Regions from separate parts of the Homo sapiens genome. Here region 1 is linked to region 2. Evidence: promoter capture Hi-C in 16 types of primary human blood cells and fetal thymus (Javierre and others, 2016). All regions are on one chromosome and are shown on one strand. The core of a region is centred on a gene start or on the middle of the fragment in contact, and the rest is flanking DNA. Distances in the headings are between cores, read along the strand shown.

Region 1 (3,758 bases), core at 875-3,374, 540 kb before region 2:
AGATCATCTGAGGTCAGGAATTTGAGACCAGCCTGGCCAAAGGTGAAACCCCATCTCTACTAAAAATACAAAAATTAGCCGGGCCTGGTGGTGGGCACCTGTAATCCCAGCTACCCAGGAGGCTGAGGTGGGAGAACCACTTGAACGTGGGAGGTGGAGGTTGCAGTGAGCTGAGATTGCACCACCGCACTCCAGCCTGGGCGACACAGCAAGACTCTGTGTTTACTTTAACAGAGAAGAGTAATCTCTCTCTCTCTCTCTCTCTCTCTCTCTCTCTCTCTCTCTCTCTCTCTCAGTATACATACATACATACATACATACATATATATATATATTTGAGACAATCTCACTCTGTCACCCAGGCAAAAGTGCAGTGGTACCATCATGGCTCACTGCAGCCTCCACTTCCTGGGCTCAAGCAATCCTCCCACCTCAGCCTCCTGAACAGCTGGGACTACAGGCATGTGCCACTATGCCCGACTAATTTTTTTTTTATTGTTTGTAGAGATACATTCTTGCTATGTTGCCCCGGCTGGTCTTGAACTCCCAGGCTCAAGCAATCCTCCTGCCTTAGCCTCCCAAAGTTTTGGGATTACAGGCATAAGCCACTGCGTCCAGCTGATAATTTTTAAAAAAACTTTTAAAAATTGACAAAAAGGTTGGGGTTGTTGAAATCCTTTTTTCTGAACACAGGAAGAAAATATATAAAACAAAATGAGAACAGGCACAGTGGTTCATGCCTGTAATCCCAGCACTTTGGGAGGCCGAGGTGGATGGATTCCCAGGCCGAGGTGGGTACACTCCAGCCTGGGCAACAAGAGCAAAACTTCATCTCAAAATAATAATAATAATAATACCAATGGAGGAATGGGTAAGAAAAATATTTCTTCATTTAACCTGCAGAAAGCTGTGAATCTACCAAATACAGCATAGTCTTGGCCTCAGGGCAGTGAGTTTCAAACTTTAGGGTACACCAGCATCACCAATAAGCTTATTAAAAATATAGATTCTTGAGCCCAACTGGAAGAATTCTGATGTAGCAGGTTTGGAATAAGTCCTAGAATTCTGCCTTTTTTGCAGGCACCACAGGTAATTGGGCAGGTGGTACAGAGTCCTCCTCCCAAAACTCTGTCTTAGGATAGAGACACAAGCCTTCCCCTTTTCTATGAATCCTGAGAATTGTGAACAGTTCTAGTGCAACCACAGAGGTAATCTGATTTACAAGGGTTCAGTTTGGTCTGGATCCTCTGATCTGGAACTATTATAGTTATCATTGTGATTATCAGAGAGACAGATTAGGGGCAGCATTATTTCCAGGCATGATGTAAACTGCTATTTATTATGATGGCAGCTTTAATAATTGATGCAAAAGTATGCATTAAAGAAATTATTTTCATATGTCTATCTACTCCTTCCCTGATTCACAAAGAAATTGGTCTCACCTTTTTATAGTTGTTATGGTAGTGGGCCATTTTATTTTGGTTTTCTACTTCAGATTCAGCTTCGAGAATGAGAAAGCATAGTTTGGGCAAAATAGATGTTTGTAACATTTTTTATTAACCTGAAGAGTGGGTGATCAATATGTTTACCTATTGCATAGCAGCCTGAAGCACCACATTGAGTGGCTAAAACCAGGAAGATGGAGAGAATATGTAAACATCTTTGGTAAAATACAGTTAAATTTACTGTTACTTTGAAGCAACCCTTTGAAGTATCCCTTAGCAACTGGTTCCTTAAGACAGAGATTATTAAGTGACAGATCCTAATTATTACTAAGACATAAGGTTTTATCATTTCTGTTTAATGTACGAACCACCTGCATTTGCTCTCATTCATTGAGTCAAACAGGAGAAGACATGAAATATATTTAACATCTACTTATTAAAATGAAGTCCCCCTGCCCAATGAATTTCATACAACAATGTTCACTCCAAAGAGTGAACTATCTTTCCCTATTTTTCTGCAGAACTTTTTGATGACTTTGCAAACCAGTCAACAATTCAGCACAAAGGCATCCAGAGTCACGCTGGCATGTTGTGACAGAATCGCACAATTACATGGGATCCATCCCACTCTGAAAATGCCCCGAACAGCGAACAGCACAGGTAAATCAAATCAAACGTCAGAGCCAGCACAGCCTGAGAGCGCCTTGAAACTCAGACTCCACAATCTATGGGGAAAGTGTCCTGCTGTGGCATGAAATAAATGAAACAGAAAATGATGGCAAGACTGCTAAGAACATCCTTTGCTTTGCTCTTCCTTGGCCTCTTTGGGGTGCTGGGGGCAGCAACAATTTCATGCAGAAATGAAGAAGGGAAAGCTGTGGACTGGTAGGTAAATGAAATGGAAGGACTGCTGCATGCAAACAGCCTCGGTACAGAGTTGGCCTGGCTCACTGCGAAGTTCCTAAGGGGAATGTCCATTCTCTTTCCTCCCTTTACAAATAAAGGAAGTTAAAGTGTGCAAATCGGCCAAACTCCCAGGCAGGGGTAGGCTTCTGAGTGACGGAGTTTCCCCCTGAAAAAGAGCTGAGCAGCCCCTCTTGGGCCTGATTCACTGTTCTCAGCGGGGCAAGGCTGGTAGCCACAGAAGTGGGATTGAGCTGACAGCTTCTGTGAGCTGGCAATTTCTTTTAATTACATCATGGCTTTTCCTAACAGAACACTTCCAACATCCTTTGAAAGACTGACAGAGTAAAGAAGGCAGATTATTTTTTTCTGAAAATGGAGCATGTGCTGCTCCTTATGAGAAAGAGAAGGGGGACCTGGTCACACACAGCACTGTTTGCCTAACATCGGTTTGTTTGGAAGCAGAGGCAGCTGTTGCCATGATTGGTACGTAGGCCACTGGCCTGTTGTACAGTGTCAAAGACATTAAATGCTGTGTTGCATTATAGTCATGGGTTCTCCTAAAGCTTTAACTACTTTTTCACCCTTTAATTGGGATATTTAGGTTTGCCATAATGGTTGGTGTCAAGCTTTTTGTGTAAACTTCAGGCTACAGAACACAGATATACTCAAGGCAGTAGTCAGTCTTTCCTCAGTTACTGAGCTCAACAGAGGTCTGTGTGGAGTTTTGAAAATATAAATATGAACGAAACATGGTTCCTACCCTCAAGGACCTCACAGTTATGTGGTAAGGGCATAGGTGGAACACTGGGGAACAGAGAGCCCAGAAAACTTCTCTAAGGATGTAATTTTTGAGCTAAGTTTTAAGAACAATTAAGAAGTAGCTGGAAAAAGAAGGGATGTGCAAGAGCATCTCAGGCCAATGAAGGAGCAATGAGGAGGTAGAGAGGCAAGAAGCAACATGGAAATTTGGGAGTTGCAAAGTAGTTTGGTATTGCTGGAACTTCAGGAGAATACAGGAAGATGACCGGAGGTGAGGTTAGAGAGGTGGGGACAGCCAAGGGGTCTGTGTGCTGAGCTACAAGGTTTGAACTTGACATTGAAAGGGAGCTATTGGAGGACTTCACGCAGGGGTGTGAATGGTCAGATTTGCACTTTAGGAAACCCATTGGCAGTACTATGAGGGCTGGATGGATGGGGAGCAGCCTAGAATCACTGAGACCAGGAGCACTTTTGCAGCATTACAGGTGAGAAGAGGTGTAGACCTGAGTTAAAGAAGCGGTCATGGAAATAGAAAGAAGGACATGCTGAGAAGACTTGGTGATGGATGGGCTGCAGCCAGTAGGAGAAAGGGAGATGTTAAGAAATAATTTTAGGTTGGCCAGGCGTGGTGGCTCACGCCTGTAAGCC
Region 2 (3,475 bases), core at 799-3,298:
GTTTTTCTCCTAATTAACATAAGCATCTTCTTATGTTTTCTACACTTAGAGAGCATTTGTAGGTTTTGTTTGTTTGTTTGAGACAGAGTCTTACTCTGCCACCCAGGCTGGAGTGCAGTGCAATCCCAGCTCACTGCAACCTCTGCCTCCAGTGTTCAAGCGATTCTCATGTGTCGGCCTCCCAAATAGATGGGATTACAGGTGCCTGCCACCAAGCCCGGCTAATTTTTGTATTTTTTTGTAGAGATGGGGTTTCACCATGTTGGCCAGGCTGGTCTCGAACTCCTGGCCTCAGGTGATCCGCCCACCTCAGCCTCCCAAAGTGCTTGGATTACAGGCATGAGCCACTGTGCTCAGCTGGCATTTGTTATATAACAGACCATTCCTTGAAAATGCCAACAAAACAAAACTTTTCACCACCCTAACCAGAAAAATGAACTTTTTTTTCTAAATTGCCCTATTTCTGTCAGTGATTCCAATCTCCTACCAAAGAAACATTTACTCTGAAATAATTAAGTCCTTAAAACTCTGTGTTGAATTGATTACTCTTCCCCGCTTTCAGTCTTCTAAGGCCTGTCTGTTCCTATCACATGTTTCTCCAATCCACCCTTACTACTCTACTGTGATGTCAACACAAATTTCTGAATTATTAAAGAAACTTCCAAGGAAGTCTCTTTTACTCCAATCTCTTTACCCTCCCCAGTCAAAGCTGCAGTAAAACCTGTACTTTAAGAAGAAGGCTTTCAGGTCATTTCTCCCTTGTGAGATTATACAAAGTTTGGATGCAAAATAAAAATCTAAACCAAGAAGGTTGTGATAAGTTCCTCCTTTATGCAGCCTCATCACATCTCCTCCTTGACAGTATTAATATGCTGTGCTTATCTTCTCCTCCAACACCAGGCCCATCCCTACATTTTTCCCTCATGGAATTTATTCTCCTCACCTGCTCTATTCTTCTTTCTCTTCTCTGTGTCCAATTAAGCCAATGTTCAAGGGTCATTTCAGAGTGTACTTCAAGACCAAGTGCCCTGGTAGTTCTAGTCCTTTCTCTGCACTCCGTATCGGTAAGAATCACAGAATGAACTATGGTCTTCTAATTGTTTTTATACACACTTCCCTGTACTCCAACTAGATACAAACACCGTGCCTTACACTACCAGCCACGTGGCTGGACCAGGCAAGGTAAAGTTGGTGGCCAAGGGAGAAGGTCTACAAACGCACCCCAAACAAGGATCCCACCCATGGCTTTGCTGCATCAGCAAAAACTCTGATGAACTAAAGTCCTCCTCCAAAAAGACCTAGAGGAAATATCCAAATGAACAGATCACTTAACAATATGTAGATTATTTAACAGTAAAACAGGCGATTGCCAGAGTAAATATTTTCCATACGCTACACAAGCCTTAAAACATTGAAGTTAAAGCTGAAAACATTGACATTAAAGTTGGTTTCTATGGATGTCAACTACAACTCTGACAGCACCATTAATAATTCACATTTCTTAGTTTCTTTTGGAATCCAGTCAACTCCTTTCTCTAGTTTCAAGAACCCCTAACTCCAAGCACAACTGTCTGTGCTTCAGGTTTCAACTGCAAATAGCTAGTTTGTCAGTACATGTCACATTCATTTTTTAATTTTCTGTTTAGTTACTTACCAGGCTACACACAATATCTGTCTCAACATTAACATTATTCATAACCATTTTACCTCCCCCTCCTCTTGTGAACATGAGAATTATTTTAACACACCAAAGAGTTAAAACAGAGACCCAGTCAATTTTAGGTGTTTGGTAACACCCTGCCATTTTGTACAAGAAGTGGCTGTGAACCAGAGTCTATTTCAGTGGCCAAATTCCATAGTAGAAGTGAGCTTAAAAATACTCAAGGTCCTAATGTGCTTCCAGTCTAGAAGGACCACATTTGTAAGGCATTCCTTTGGATCTTGAGTGATCATAAGCCCCTGGAAAGCAGGTACTACTCTCTCTCTGCTTCTTGTTTGTTCAAAACAAACTTTTTGGGCACCTACCATGGTCTATGTGCTGTGCTGGACACTGGGAATGTAAAGAGGAACAAACTACAGTTCCTTCCCTCCAAGAACTTGGTCTACAAGAACCTAGCAATGTTGGGTGCACAGTAGATATTTAATACGTATTAAATGGGTATTTCCATAAAGAGTCCCCATAGGTTCTCTGGGCCCACGATGAGAACTCAACCATTCATTTCACAAATGATAAGTTTGCAGTTGGGCCAAAAACCTTTAATTTCAATGAAACCATAACCTGCAATGGCTTATGTCAGAGAACAACATAAATATTTGCTTTAAGAGCTGGTGCCAAGAATCTCATGCAAACTTTAGGCAAAATGTTTTAGCTGAGGGGTACTTGGCTAAAACCAGAGGGCTTGGAAGGAGGAAAATGTAATGCAGAGTCTGCTGAACTTTGACCCATGGCATCAGTGAAGTCCAACAACTTTTCAAGTCTTGGTCTTCTCATTTGTAAAATGGGGACAATGCAAGGCTATGATTTATTCCTCACAGGAAAAAAAGTCCTCTGGAAATGTAAAAGCCGCATTAGAGTAATGTTTAATAATTCAAGATGAGGTCTGGAAGAACATCAACAGTCTCTCACCCTCTGTGCCCAGGCATTTTGAAAGGGCACTGTGCCAAAGTCCATTAGTGCTGGGAATACACATCAGCAGGAAGCCTTTTGCATCTTGACTCCCTTTCCATTGAGCCCCTGAAATCAGATGCCTAACAGGAAGATAGGAAGCTGAAGTGTTATGGGACCCCAGCTATCAGTCAAACGGTTTTCCTAATGTCTCCTTTTTAGTTGTTTTGTTTTAAAGAAAGAATTAGCTTTCACAATCAAGGTTGCTGTGATTCTAAAAATCCCACAAAAATGCCCGCTTGGAATGCCTAGCTTTTCAAGGCTTCAGGTAACCTGAAAGTCCTCTGATTCAGATACTGGCAGAACCTGAACATGCTGACAGCTTGGATTAATTTGGGGGAAAGGATGCAAGGGGCAATAAAATATTCTAACTTCAGATTCAAAGAGGCAGCAATATGGTGAAGAAAAGCACAAAGTTCCAAAACCAGACTGACGTTCTCTCCCCCAACTGACTTGTACATTCAGTGAATTAACTCAGCTGTGTATTTCCCCAATATATCAGCCTGGTGAGAGATGCCATAAACAGACCTGCAGGCAACCCTACAGACATCCCTTATCCCTCCCCTCCTCCAGGGGTATAAAGGAAAGCTAACATTAAGTGAAAGACATAAGTCTAGAGCTGCAATGTCCATAGTGGTAGTCACCAGGAATGTGTGAATAGCCAGCATCCAATAGATAGCTAGTCCAAATTGAGACGTGCTATGTGGATAAAATATCCACCAGATCAAAAAGACTAGTATGGAGGAATGTAAAATATTTCAATATTTTATACTGAATACATGCTGAAATAATATTTTGGGTATATTAGGC

Evidence for each region. The method cuts DNA at HindIII sites, captures the fragments that hold promoters and counts their contacts. A CHiCAGO score of 5 or more calls a contact.
Region 1: a contact is called between the fragment with the promoter of DNASE2B here and a fragment that was not itself captured in region 2, in 1 of 17 cell types (M2 macrophages). The highest score is 6.9, in M2 macrophages.

Annotation. Positions count from the first base shown.
Region 1 is chr1:84,396,360-84,400,117 of GRCh38, forward strand. DNASE2B (deoxyribonuclease 2 beta) reads left to right here and starts at 2,125. Exons shown (of 6, transcript NM_021233.3): 1 at 2,125-2,330. The coding sequence starts at 2,206. The HindIII fragment of the contact is 1,924 bases long and covers 989-2,912 here.
Region 2 is chr1:84,932,154-84,935,628 of GRCh38, forward strand. The region is part of intron 11 of MCOLN2 (mucolipin TRP cation channel 2); the gene reads right to left. Among named protein-coding and RNA genes, the nearest start is that of LPAR3, 41 kb to the left of the region's middle. The HindIII fragment of the contact is 4,456 bases long and covers 1-3,475 here.